2 separate regions of the Homo sapiens genome follow, and region 1 is linked to region 2. The links are contacts of gene promoters, found by promoter capture Hi-C in blood cells and fetal thymus (Javierre and others, 2016). All regions are on one chromosome and are shown on one strand. The core of a region is centred on a gene start or on the middle of the fragment in contact, and the rest is flanking DNA. Distances in the headings are between cores, read along the strand shown. Region 1 overlaps RFFL (ring finger and FYVE like domain containing E3 ubiquitin protein ligase). Region 2 holds the start of SLFN12L (schlafen family member 12 like).

The links. Contacts are between HindIII fragments. The CHiCAGO score rates a contact against its expected background, and 5 or more counts as called.
Region 1: a contact is called between a fragment that was not itself captured here and the fragment with the promoter of SLFN12L in region 2, in 5 of 17 cell types (activated CD4 T cells, naive CD4 T cells, total CD4 T cells and 2 more). The highest score is 8.8, in activated CD4 T cells.

What each region holds. Positions count from the first base shown.
Region 1 is chr17:35,013,227-35,020,164 of GRCh38, forward strand. It overlaps RFFL (ring finger and FYVE like domain containing E3 ubiquitin protein ligase), which reads right to left. Exons shown (of 7, transcript NM_001017368.2): 4 at 4,297-4,380; 5 at 3,144-3,354; 6 at 1,514-1,537. RAD51L3-RFFL (RAD51L3-RFFL readthrough) reads right to left here. Exons shown (of 7, transcript NR_037714.1): 6 at 3,144-3,354. Among named protein-coding and RNA genes, the nearest start is that of LIG3, 36 kb to the left of the region's middle. The HindIII fragment of the contact is 6,276 bases long and covers 1-6,106 here.
Region 2 is chr17:35,533,826-35,541,390 of GRCh38, forward strand. It overlaps SLFN12L (schlafen family member 12 like), which reads right to left and starts at 3,853. Exons shown (of 5, transcript NM_001363830.2): 1 at 3,748-3,853. RefSeq lists enhancers at 3,181-3,260, 7,193-7,272, 7,313-7,502. The HindIII fragment of the contact is 3,143 bases long and covers 1,009-4,151 here.

The sequences.
Region 1 (6,938 bases), core at 1,719-4,218, 520 kb before region 2:
CCACAGCTCCTGCTCTAGAATGGCCTTCTGCCTAACTGCCCTAAGAGTAGAAACTATCCAGACAGTATCAACTGCTGAGTGCACAGGGTTCTCAATAAATGCTAACTGGCTTGTGTCACTAGCAGAATATAGTGGGCATGACCAGTATCCTAGTAGAGCTGACCCAAACAGAAAAAATAATGTTCAAAAGCCCAGCCATCTCCAATATGTCTTAAATTGTAGCCTGAAGTAGGTACCCATAAAAAGGAACTGATCTCACAGAAGTCACCTCTACCATCTGGGGGTTGGCCAACCCATAGAGGAATTCTCCCTTATTGCATCTATACTTTCTCTTTTCTGGACTATTAAAAAGTCAAGAAATACTTCCCCCTAGGAGGTAGGCTGGGTGTGAAAGGGAGTGAAACCCATTTGCCTCTTTTGAGGTGCTGTTGGTCCTAACAGAGGTTTGGAGACTATACAAATACCTAAGATGAATGGGAATAATTTATAATTTTCAGTTACTCATTCTCTCAGAAGTAACAACAAACACATTAACTCAGTTGTCAGCATTCTCCCAGGGAATCAGAAAAAGAAAGGAAGCACCAAGTAGATCAGCCTGATCTTGGTACCGGTGATGCTGGGGGGTTGGAGGGTGGAGGTGGGTCTAGAACTCCAAATGGTTTTGGGGAATTGAGAAAAGCTCAACTGTTTTTTATGTCTGATTAGAAGTAATCAGACATAAAATTGCCCATTCTGAGCAAAAGGCCATTTTACTAAATAAATTTGGGAAATCTTCTGAAATAAGTTTTAAAATGCTGCAGGCTAGTCCAACACTACTCTTAGAACGTTCTCTCTTGGAAGGGAGTTCACAACCATATACCCTTGAGGCTTTTGAAAACACATAGCATATTTTAGAATGTCCCCACAGATGGTCAGGAGTTCTGCAGTGTGTTCTGGGAGTACCTGAGGGCCCAGTGGTGGTCTTTAAGTGAGTGGCAGCTGAGCTGAGATATATAGCTTGTGCCCAGAGAGTAGCACATGTGTTAGCTCCAGAGTAGCTCTAACCATTACCAGCCCTGTACAAACAGGGCTGTCTCAGGTCACCACCCTTTCTTTTTGGTTAGTACCAGAAGCTGCTAAACACCCTGATTCCCCAGAAGGTGTACACAGAGACCCTCCCTACCCAGACCAGAACTGAAAACACCAAGATTTTAAAAAATGAGCTGAGTGTGATACATGCCACCCCTCCTCTGTTTCAGTGTTTTACAAATGTTGGCTTATGAGCTCAGGTAGCCCAGGGACATGCACATCAGTCAGTCCGCCCCTACGTATGCTCCACTCTGCTTCCTGCACAGCGAGCAGAGAGAATTTCTAAAGATGGTGAGAGGCCCCCTGGGTCTCAGTGAGTTTCCCACACACCCTCTCTCTGGGGGCTCAAATGCTCAGAATTCTTAGATTACTAAAGGGATTGGGGTTGAAGGAGGGGAAGGACAAAAGGGCCTAAGCCCATTCCCAAACAGAAACAACTACATACCGTTTTGGTCTTCGGCACCACTGACTGAAAAGGAAAGAGAAGGATGTCTGAATAGGTAAGGCATGATGGTACAAATACAGTCTCTTACTGCCCTGACATCATTTCTGAACTCTTACCACTCCCTGCTGGGAACCAGGCTTGCCAAGAGCCTAGATGGACATCTGCCCTCTACTCGCTCTACATGCTCAGAACTCACACAAAGCTCCTACTCGTGCATCTGGTCTACTTTTATTTTTTATTTTTTTGAGATGGAGCCTCACTCTCTTGCCCAGGCTGGAGTGCAGTGGCATGATCTTGGCTCACTGCAACCTCTTTCTCATGGGTTCAAGCGATTCTCCTGCCTCGGCCTCCTGAGTACCTGGGGACTACAGGCACATGCCACCACTCCCGGCTAATTTTTTGTTTTTGGTGGAGATGGTGTTTCACCATGTTGCCTATGCTGGTCTTGAACTCCTGATCTCAAGTGATCCACCTGCCTCAGCCTCCCAGAGTGCTGGGATTACAGGCATAAGCCAACACACCCAGCCTGGTCTACTCTTAGGAAAAGGTATTCCACCAGTTTGCACAAACTGCCAAGTAGAAGGATACTGTATATGTGCAATATCCTTTTCTATTTTGAAGTCAGCATTAAAGTCAAGAAAGAATGAACTATCTAGCTGTTTCAGTCAGTCAGAGAATCTGGATAAAGTTCCCACGTGGAGTCATCTGTTCTGTTCCCCAGGTCCTGACGACTGGAGAGAAGACTCTTGAAACAATCCCAAAGGGAAAACAGACTCCATGTCAGTAGGCCTCAGTCTGTAATCGGGTGAAGAGTCAGTCAGATGACCCCTAACACTGATGAATTTGAGCTACTGGTAGAAGAGAGCCTGAAACCTGACTTCAACCACTCTTACCAAGCAAGGAATCAGTATGTTGCTCTGTAGGAACCAAATCAACTGGGGATGGGAGGAAAGGAGAAGATTCTGTGGTGAAATAATTTCAGGAAATGCTAAGTTCAAAACAGCCAAAACACATTTCTCTTCTGCAGGACTTCTCTGCCTTTAATATAAAAATCTACCATAAATCAGTAATGAAGATATGAGGTATTTTTCCCTAAACTCATTTAACCACAGACCCAGATATTTTCCTGGGCATCTCCTGAATGATACAGTGTAAAATGCTCTGGGAAATGAACAAAAGGAAGAGCCCAAGTGCAGATGGAACAGCTATCTTCTCCTGCCATGTATGTAGATTCACTTTCTACCTCCCAAATCTTCAGAACAAGCATTCTTATTCTAAGGTAAGAAAACTTACAAGGTGGTGGTGAGTAGGGAGGGGATAGCATATGGTGAGAAAGGCTATGGACTTAGACCATAAAATTTTCAGTTAAATTTTACCTTTCAGATAAAGGGGTGATGCTAATAATGTCTATTTCATAGGTTGCTCTAAGGAATAAATACATACATGCAATGCCTAATCTAGTTTTGACACTCAACCACAAATGACAGCTATTATTAGACGGTGCAAATATGTAAGGTGTCTCCTTCCATGGCTTAAGTGTGGAAATTGAGTCAGGTCAATACCATCATGCTTTGGAGTGACAGCAAACACTCCTGAGCTCTGTAAAGCTACCATGCAGATAGCCCCTCACCCAGGTGCTGGAGTCCTTTCTGATCCTTGTATAGCCGGGTCACTCTCTCCATCAGCTCCCACTTCTCACAGCAGCCCTTGTAGTTGACAAAGTTGCGAGCCAAGATCTCTTTCAGCTGCCGCACTGTCAGGCCTTCAATGTCCTCCAGGTCAGTCAGGTCAGACAGAGAGGCCCTTCGGCCTGGGACAAAGCTGTCCTCTGAGTCAATAGACTGCAATGACAAAGATGAGATCAGTGTGCTCAGCTCTTACCTCCCCAAGCTCTTTCTCCAAGGACCCCAAAGCAGTCACCACATCATAATTTTGGTGACTGACCTCATGAAGGGTAGGAACAGAGACAGGATGAGTACCTGGCATGGTGCTCTGCATTGCAAAATATACTAGAATCTCTTCCTGACCCACGATTCTGTGCTCAGGAGCAAACAGACACAGACCAACCAATCAGTGTGATATAGTACTAGATAGAAGTATAGTAGAAGGAGTGCTGGTTTGAGTCATATGACCCTAATTTTGAATCTTGACTCCTCTGCTGTTAATGCTAAATAATATCCAGCAAGTTGCTTACCACTCTGAGCCCGTTTGCCCCTCCATTAAGGGGAGAGAGCAGTCCTACCCCACAGGGGTCCTGTAGAGGTTAAATATGGCCGCACATGAAACCCAGCATGGTGCTGGCCCTTCTCCCCTGGAGACTTCTGCTTGCCCACAAGAGGCACATTTCCCTGGCAAGTACTCCTCTATACACAACCTTGGCCACAGCTCCCTGGTCTGTGCTCTGGACTGGCCCTGCCTGGCTAATTGTCTGACCTCCTTCCCTTGACAATGGCTACAGTGTGCTAGAAGCAAGGAAAGAACAAGACTTTAACAGCAGGACCACAAGCCTGCCCTCCGGCAGCTCTTAGAAAGTCAAGAGACTGGAAATACAATGGGCCATGAGGCTTCTCCGTCTCCACTGTGACCTCACAACTCCTTATAAATACACTGACCGCTTCACTAGTTAACCTGGAACACTAACACTAAACCCTACCCCAAAAATATAATTTCGGAAGCACTATCATCACACATTTATTCTCTCTCCACTCGACTCTGCTAAGAGGTTCCGAAGAACACCAGTGAAAGAGGAAAGGTGAAGACACAGACCCAAGCAGAGGCCCCACCTGGGTCTCATCCTCAGCAGGTACTCTGGCCACGCTCTCCAGGTAGACGGGTTCCTCTTGATCCTGAGACACATGGCCATTGGCCTGTGGGAAGAGAAAAGTAACATCACATCTAGAGATGTCCCAGAGATCTGCATAGCATGGGCCTCTTTTCAACTCACACAATGTCCAGAATGTACTCCCATCATGCCCAGAAATCCGGAGCCTCTTACAGCATCATTACAAAAGCCTGCTCTCTCATACCAACTTTGTCAAGCAGAGAAACAACAAAAATACATTTCAATAGACAAAGCTGCCCTCTAGAACAAAACTGCATTAATTCTGCACACACCAGGATGGCAGTAGCCACAACTCATCATCAATTTAATCTCAGCTTGAGCACCACAGGTGAAGGGAAGGTCATTGTGTCCATTCCACTGCTGGACTGCTCTCTATCTGGCATCAAGGTTTTTCTTGACACTGATCCAAAATTGCCATCCCTATCCCTGGTTCTGCTCCTCAGACCATAGTCTCCTGGGGTTTTTGTTTGTTTGTTTTTTGTTTTTCCCAAACTGTTTATACCATGTTTTCCCCTCCTTCACACTAAATCTCCCTGGCTTCCTTATCTGACACTGATGGGACAAAGTTTCCAGATCATCACCACCCTAGTCTCTTTCTTTTCTGCCTAGTAACTACTCTCACATTCTGGAAATGTGCTCCCCATGTTGAGCACACTATTATTAAGTGCTATGTCCAGACCTAGTCAAAGAGTATTTTAATGTATCTAAGAATCTATTAGCCTAACACTATATAAAACACTGCCTATGCTTACGGAATTTCATTATGCTTAGAATTCTCACTTCTCAAAAGGTTCCTCCTGAGTACTCTTTTAGGAGGTTTGGCCAAAGAGTAGGCAGAACTGTTAGCCTCCTAATTCCATCACCATTTAAGCCACAAACCCCTTAAGTAGATCCTCTTCGCCCACTGCTCCCTGCAGGCAAAGGGCCTGCTGTGAGCTCAGAGCAAAGAGGTGTCTGAGCTCACAGGCCTTTTCCACCAGATTCTGGGGATGCCAGTGAAGGGACAATCTGGGAAACCAAAGACACCCACCGACCCCAGCCACTCACCCCACATTAGGATTCATAATATGGAGCTAATCAAGAAGAGGCAACCAACTGCAATGGAAATGAAAAGCAGAAGTAACAAAATGCCAAATCAAGGCAAGATCAAATGCATAGTACACATGTATGGGGATGGATCCAAATCAATGTCTTCATCAACAACGTTTTCTCTTAGCTTACTGTAGATCCTCACTGGTCTCTCAGGTAGTGTTACCTTGGAATTACCCTGGAATCCTTCAGAGCCTAACCTGTTCCTAAGTAGCTATCTTTCAGATGTCCTGTTTCCTAGAAAGAGAAACGACCTCATGCTGCAAAGCATGCTCTTGTCTTTCCAGTTTGCCCACTGGCTAAATAAAAATCCAAAACTAGTACCTGTCCACAGTTGTGCTTATTGTATATACTTCCTTGCCTAGCAACTATTGATTGCTAGGGCACTAAAGGTGAAAGAGAGAACTCTGGTTGAGCAAGTATTATAAGGAAATTTACATTCTAGGTGCAGCTCACTTATGAACTTGTCAGACAGTACTGCGTAAGTTACTTAATTCTTCCATGCCTGTTTTTCCTGCTTGCAAAGTGCAGCTCTCACCAGAACAGGGGATGTAAGCAGACACTAAGGTCTCTTGAAAATCTCAGAGGAAAAGTACCCACTTAGATCTTGTATGTAGGGTGACCTTTAGGTGCAATCTGGAAATTTCTGGTTAATGACAGGAAGCTTATCATCTTTCATTGAAAAATCTACCTGAAAAGTTTGCTTGGTTTTTTGTTTTTGTTTTCTGAGACAGGATCTCACTCTGTTGCCCAGGCTGGAGTGTGGTGGCATGATCATGGTTCACTGCAGCCTCGACCTCCCAGGCTTAAATGATCCTCCCACCTCAGCCTCTTGAGTAGCTACAGGCACCCACCACCACGCCCAGCTAATTTTTGTATTTTTTGTAGAGACAGGTTTTTGCCATGTTGCCAGGCTAGTCTCAAATGCCTGGGCTCAAATGATCCGCCTGCCTCAGCCTCCCAAAGTGCTGGGATTACCAGGCATGAACCACCACGCCCAGCCAAGGTTCTTTACAGAAAAAGAATTCCTCAAGTTCTTCTCCTGGCTCCTTATACATAGAGTGGAAAAAAAAAAAACACAAGCAAAGGGAAGAATATATAGCAGGAGTTTAAATCTGTCTAGCAGACCAAGAGTCAGAGCTTAGGAAAGAATTAAAGTCCAGCTGCGGAGAAAAACATGTTCAGGCCAAAAAGGGAGTTAAATGATTTTACTGCAGTTAAATTATGCTATCACATTGGCCTTTATGCCTCAGTGGTTGTCAAGAGCTGAATCAGGGGGCCCAGTCCTGGCAAAGGAGGTGATCATAAACAAGTGGCAGCAGCCATCCACATCATGTGTGGGAACCAACAGCACTAGCACTATACCAGCTCTAAGTAACTCAGAGCTCTTTTAGACATGGTATCACGCATTCAGGTCTCTCAACATCCTGGCAAGATCAAAAGTGGTCTGTGATTACTAACCTCATTTCATTGTTGTAGGCTCAACATTTGCCC
Region 2 (7,565 bases), core at 2,603-5,102:
ATCCCAGCACTTTGGGAGGCCGAGGCGGGCAGATCACCTGAGGTCAGGAGTTCGAGACCAGCCTGGCCAACATAGTGAAACCTCATCTCTACTAAAAATACAAAAATTAACCAGGCTGCACCTGTAGTCCCAGCTACTTGGGAGGCTGAGGCACGAGAATTGCTTTAACCTGGGAGGCAAAGTTTGCAGTGAGTCAAAATCATGCCACTGCACTCCAGGCTGGGCAACAGAAGGAGACTCTGTCTCAAAAGAAAGGCCTGGGCACGGTGTCTCATGCCTGTGATCCCAGCACTTTGGGAGGCCCTGGTGGGCAGATCATGAGGTCAAGAGATGGAGACCATCCTGGCTAACACGGTGAAACCCCATCTCTACTAAAAATACAAAAAATTAGCCGGGCATGGTGGCACATGCCTGCAGTCCCAGCTACTCGGGAGGCTGAGGCAGGAGAATCTCTTGAACCCGGGAAGCGGAGGTTGCAGTGAGCTGAGATCGTCCCACTGCACTCCAGCCTGGCAACAGAGCAAGACTCCGTCTCAAAAAAAACAAAAAGTAATGGGAAGCCATTGGAGGTTGTTAAGCAGGAAGACACAGCATCAGATGAACATTTTTCAAAGTCCTTTCTAGCTGAAGCAGGTTAGAGCAGTCATGGAAAAGACCTTTCAGGATATGGTTTCAGCAGCCCAAATGAGAACAGATGGTGATGTGGACTAAGGTGGGGACAGTGGAGAAGTAGGCAGAGTTGAGAGAGATTTAGAATTAAGCCGGCAGAGTTGAGAGAGATTTAGAAGTAAGCCGAGGGACCTGGCAATTGATGGGAATTCATGTCTATTATTTCAATTGCTCCTCTTCCATCTCAATCCAATGGATAAGAACCAGAATGGGCCCAGTCACTGGCGGGAGCTGTTTATGAGATACTGCTTCTCACCCCAGATTAAAAACCATAGCTTAGCCAAACATTGAAAGGGAGAAAGGATCCAAATGTGGAGAGAGAACCTGGATATATGCCAAAGCTTAAGCAGCCAAAAGCAGAAATCTCTATCAAGGCCTGGGATCAAGAGTTCTGATACAGGAAGAGCTAATCAATCAAGAGCAAATAAAAACAAAGGGCATAGTAGGAAGGTTAATGCTTGTGGTGCTCCTCATGAGCTGAAAGAGCTAACATTTATTGAGCCAGGAACTGTACCAAAAACTTTACATACATTATCTCATTGCTTTCTCACAACAAATACTATTATCTTTATTTTACCAATGAGGAAACTGAGGTTGGGGGACATATTCAGAGTCATATGGGTGAGGCTCAAATCCAGGAGTATTTGATTCCAAATGCTAGTGTTTCTAATCAAAACCTAGACTCTCTCTTTCTCCTTTTTTTTTTTTTTTTTTAGATGGAGTTTCACTCTTGTTGCCCAGGCTGGAGTGCAATGGCGTGATCTCGGCTCACCACAACCTCCACCTCCCAGGTTCAAGCAATTCTCCTGCCTCAGCCTCCCTAGTAGCTGGGATTACAGACATGTGCCACCTTGCCTAGCTAATTTTTTTTTTTTTATTTTTAGTAGTGACGGGGTTTCTCCACGTTGTTCAGGCTGGTCTTGAACTCCCGACCTCAGGTGATCCGCCCACCTCAGGCTCCCAAAGTGCTGGGATTACAGCACCGCACCCAGCCTTTTTTTTTTTTTAAAGCAACAGGGTCTTGCTCTGTCATCCAGGCTGGAGTGCAGTGGTGCAGTCATAGCTCACTGCAGCCTTCACCACCCGAACTCAAGCAGTCCTCCCACCTCAGCCTCCCAAGTAGCTGGGACTACAGGTGTACGCCACCATGCCTGGCTAGCTTTTTTTGTTTTTGTTTTTGAGATGGATTCTTGCTCTGCCGCCAAGGCTCGAAGGCAGTGGCAGGATCTCAGCTAACCGCACCCTCCACCTCCTGGGTTCAAGTGATCTTTCCACCTCAGCCTCCTGAGTAGCTGGAATGACAGGCACGCACCACCACTCCCAGGTAATTTTTGTATTTTTAGTAGAGACAGGGTTTTACCATGTTGGCCAGGCTGGTCTTGAACTCCTGACCTCAAATGATCCACCTTCCTCGGCCTCCCAAAGTGCTGGGATTACAGGCGTGAGCCACCACACCCGGCCCTGGCTAGTTTGTTTGTTTGTTTGTTTGTTTGTTTGTTTGTTTTGTAGAGATGGGGTCTTGCTATGTTATCCAGGCTGTTCTCAAACTTCTGGGCTCAAGCGATCTTCCCACCTTGGTCTCCCAAAGTGCTGGGATTACAGGCATGAGCAACCACATCCGGCCAAAAATCTAGACTCTTAATCATTGTGCAAACTGGTCTCCCAAATTATTAGGCCTCTTGGAAGACAAGAGAGTTTTCATTACTCTGGTAAGAATAACCATTCTGGAATAATCTCCCTGGTATTTGTGATAGCATTTATTTTATAAAACACATTTGATAACAAGAAAAACATAGGTCTATTTCTGTTAAACACAGGCAAGCAAAAGTCACATGTAAAAACACAGCTAGACAGAACATCTAGGGCCTTCACAAGTATCTGCTTTAATTAATGTTGGTAAACAAAAAGACCCAATGCAGTGACACATTTGCAAACATTATATCTAAATCCAACTAGATCACAGTTTCCCAGTCAATATAGCTTAAGTTTCTCTGAAAACAAAATAGTTTATATATTACGAAAAACAAAAAAACACAGTTGGGCTCAGTGGCTCATGCATGTAATCCCAGCACTTTGGGAGGCTAAGGTGGGCAGATTGCTTGAGCCCAGGAGTTTGAGACCAGTCTGAGCAAGGAAATCCAGTCTCTACAAAATATAAAAAAATTAGCTGGGTGTGGTGGTGCATGGTCTATAGTCCCAGCTCCTCGAGAGTCTGAGACGGGAGGATCACTTGAGCCTAGGGAGGTTGAGACTGCAGTGAGCCACGATTGCATCACTGCACTCCAGCCTGGGTGACAGAGTGAGAGCCTGTCTCAAAAAAAAAAAAATAAGAAAAATAAGAAACCCCTTTTCATAGTGATGAAGCAATCAGCTAACTGCTAAAGAATCTTCACAGGCGAGGCTGGGTACGGTGGCTAATGTCTATAATCCCAGCACATTGGGAGGCCAAGGTGGGACGATTACTTGAGGTCAGGAGTTTGAAACCAGCCTGGTCAATCTAGCAAGACTTCCTCTCTACAGAAACGAAAAAAATTAGCCAGGCACCCTCACGCTCAGTGCCTGTAGTCCCCGCACTTTCAAAGGCTGAAGCAGGAGGATCCTTTGAGCCCTGGAAGGTCGAAGCTGCAGTGAGTTGTGATCGCACCACTGCACGACAGCCTGGGCGAAAGAGTGAGAACCTGTCTCAAAAAAAAAAGAGAATCTTCACAGGCATCCCTTCCTCCCAAGTCTCCTCACTTGTCTTATCTGAAGGTTTGTTCCCCAGAACTATGAGAACCCTCTACATCTCTTTCTCTCAGCCCAGCCAGGTTCCTCTGGGCTTGAGTCCTACATCCCTGGCCTCAGCTACAAGGTGAGTACAGTCTAAGGACCAGCTCCTCTCATTGTCTATTTCACTTATTTATTAAAAGTGTAGACCTAAAGTGTCTACTTCATCCTCTCTTGCCTAAAGTGGGTATATCTGGAAAAGTCTGTAGCCACAGAGGAGATTTTCATCTTAGAGTTATGAGGTCTCTTTGAGAGACTCTCCATTCCATTGAATAAGCATGGCTTAGATCTCTCTGGACAATCTGTACTTACCTTGGGAGTTAAAAGATTCCACAGGGTTGAGATGCTGAAAAGATGAGAAAGTTCCAGGAGCTCTGATCTACTTAGGAGTCCCTGCAGTTTGGCTGAGGACAGTGGTAATCCTCAAAGGCTAGAAATGGCTTTCAAATCTGAGCGCTCTGCAGAACAAGTCCAGGAAAAATGCTGCTTTGGTATTTCTGAGAATGAAACTAGAAGGTTGCCGCCTTTTTAAAGTTTCCATTTCTCAGAATTCTCCTACTCATTTTAGGCCTGCCATTCTAGCCTCAAGGGGGGAATATGTGCTATTTCCTGTTTATCAATAGACTAAGTGGGCCAAAGACTAGTTCTGGCTAAAGACTAAAGAAACTTTATCAGAAGAAATGCTTCAAACACTTTGGAGAATAATGCTACAAAAAAGCTTTTTTGGATACACACCAAACTGTTATTAAGGATTACTTTCTCAGAAGTAGAACTGGAGAGGAAGAAGATGGAAAGGGAGGAGAGAATTGTTACTTTGTACAGTAGGCCTGAGTTACTCAACAAATATTTTTTATTGGCAAGGAAAAGGGAAAAAACAAAACAAAAAGAAACAGTGAAAGAGCCAGAAAGGAAATTAAACAGTGCATCTCACTGACTTTCTCATTCAATTTTTATAGTAGCCTCCATAATCCTAATAGTTGTTGTAATTAGAGCCGAGATGGATTCACTGCTATTAATTTAGCTGCTAATACTGTTGCTATTGTTCTGATCAAGTTTCTGCTACTTTTTGACCTGCTGTCTCCCTCAACAGCTGTAGGAGTCACAATTCCCTTGAGCTCTTGTTGGTTTCTTGTTCCATTTTTTTTGGGTTTCTATCCTTATACATTGAAAAAATTATTACAGTGTGGATTTAGCAATCATTTTTAGCTATAAGAAAAGGTGCTGTGCACTAGAGGGAATTGAATTAGAGATGTCATTCGTTAATCAGATAATTAGTTCCCAATCTTGGCTGCTTGTTCAAATCTTTTGGCATGCTTTTTAAAAATTCAGATGCTAAGGTCCTTCCCCAGACATTCTGAATTATACTGTCAAGTAGTGGTGCAATATCAGGAGGTAGAGACATATCACATATACACAACACACACATATAGGCATAAACATAAAGACAGACACAAATAGATCTTATAATTTTCATTTAAAATCTTAGCCATGATTAGGTATACATAAACACAAAATTTAATAATTTTGATAAAAATTGATTCTCATCTTTGCCTATTAATATTTTCTTTCGATCTCATCTTTCCATAGACATTTGTTTAGGATGACAGCTTTCTTTTAAAAAAAAATCCTTTTAGATATAAAAGTTCAAATCTTCAAAGGTATACCTGTCTTAATTGTGACTCAAAACCAGTAAGTTTTTATGGCTTAAAACCTATAAGCCTTTTATCACTTAACCATGGATGTAAGAGACATCCCCAAGGAGGATGCAAACCATGCAGCCCTTTTGCCGGGCGCGGTGGCTCACACCTATAATCTCAGTATTTTGGGAGGCTGCGGCGGGCAGATTACTTGAGGTTAGGAGTTCAAGACCAGCCTGGCTAATATGGTGAAACCCTGTCTCTACAAAAAATACAAAAATTAGCCAGGCCTGGTGGTGCATGTCAGAAATTTCAGGTACTCGCGAGACTGAGGCGGGAGAATCACTTGAGCCCGGGAGGCGGAGGTTACAGTGACCAAGATCACGCCACTGCACTCCAACGTGGGCGACAGAATGAAACCCTGTACTCAAAAAAAAAGAAAGAAAGAAAGAAAGAAAGAAAGAAAGAAAGAAAGAAAGAAAGAAAGAAAGAAAGAAAGAAAAGAAAAATGAAGGTTCAGGTGACAAACGCCTCTTATGGACTGGGACCTTTTATTAAGACAAACTTCTCTGAGAGCTGGCACAGGCGGACGAAAATGCTGCTTATCTTAGATTTTGGGTTCCAGGCTGGTGGCCTGATGCAAACCAGCAACACTTGCGCCCTCTGGCGGCGAGGACCAGAGAGACTATTTTAAAGCCAAGCTCTCGGGACATAAAACGAAGGAAGAATCGAATCTCATGATTTTCTTCCTTATGACAAACAACACAAACGACAGAGACAAGGACTTTTTATTATTCCTTGGAGGCTGTGGATCATACCCAGACCAAATTTATAAAAGTTACAATTCAAAGAACTCATTCTTACAAATGTTTTTCTCCTGCCAATCTGAATTTGGAAAGGAAGAGACAAGGAAAATTTACGTTCTCCTCTCTACAGGGCACTGCAGATAGATATGTCGGGGGACTGACTTTGGTAAGAATTCTTACCTTCTGCAGGTTCTGTCAGCTCTTCCGGGATCCTACCCACAGGCTCTGAAGTGAGTGGCGCATCCCAACCTTCTAGGGTCCCATTTTCATTGCCAGAAACCACAAGGGAGGCAAAATTTTACCTCTGTTCTCTTAGGGATTTTGGCTAGGCCTGAGAATTAACTTGACCTATGACAGATTAACAAGAGAAAAACATACAGATTTTTACATATAGGAGCCCCTATAGAAAATTCAAGACCTAAAGAAGTGCCGAAACCTAAATGCTTGTATAGTAGGGTGAGCAAAGAGTACAACTGCAGAAAAGTAATTACATTAAAGTATGTGTGAAGGCAAAGTAAGATAAGGGTTATTTTAGCAAGGTCTGTTTGTACAGAATTATCCTGGGTATGACCCCCGTCAAAGAATGTTTTTTATTCTCCTGGTACAGGGAGGGCATCTTTCACGTGGGACTTTTATCTCCTGTTTTAAGGAAGAAAAAAAGATTAAGATTCACTTTTTGCATCTGCTATTTTCTTTTTCTTTTTATTATTATTTCAACAGTTTTGGGGGGAACAGGTGGTGTTTGGTTACATGGATAAATTCTTCAGCAGTAATTTCTGAGATTTTGGTGCACCCATCACCCGAGCAGTGTACACTGCACCCAGCGTGTAGCCTTTTATCCCTCATCCTCCTCCCACCCTTCCCCCAAGTCCTCAGAGTCTATTATTTTTATGCCTTTGGGTCCTCATATGCATCTGCTATTTTCAAGTGCCTTTAGCTCCAAATAATCCTTATGCCAAAATGGCATATTTGGGGGCAACACATTCTGCCACCCTTCAGTACCTTTGGCCAAACAGAGGTTTGCTTTCCAGACCTCCTGGGTTCTGTGACTGGCAACTGCACAAGCAGGGCACGCTCACATGCCATCTTCCCACAGTGACCCGTGGGGAAGTGACGAAAGAAGGCTGCTTCTGTCCTAATTGTGTTGCTCTGTTGTACAGTTCCCTAAAATGTCTGCCCCCACCCCACCCCACCCTACCCCATATTTTATGGAATTAGGTGAAGAGCTTTTTCCTCCTTTACTTGCCCATCATCCTCTTCTTCCCTGTAGGCATGAGTTCCTGCTGTTCATGAAACCAATTGGAAAGTAAGGGGCACTACTGCACTGATAATCTTGGCTCCTTGCTCAAAGGCACGGAGAACCACCTCTCCCTAACCTGCAATGTGGGAAATGTCTCACATACTATATGGGAGACTGCAGAGAAGAAAGGGGTCACCAGAACAATAAACCCAAACAGGATATACAATGGAATGTACGCTATGATTACAACTCTGCTAAAATATATCTGCCAGTGGACTAGCCCAGGAAACGAACAAGCAAAAGTGAAAGCAACTGCATGATTCAGCGGTAATAATAGGGATTGAATTTTCTTTTGTGGTTCTCTATTTTCTAATCTTTCTATAATGTAATTATATAGAACTTGTAATGACAGGTATATCTTTTATGTTTCTTGGTATACAAAATGCT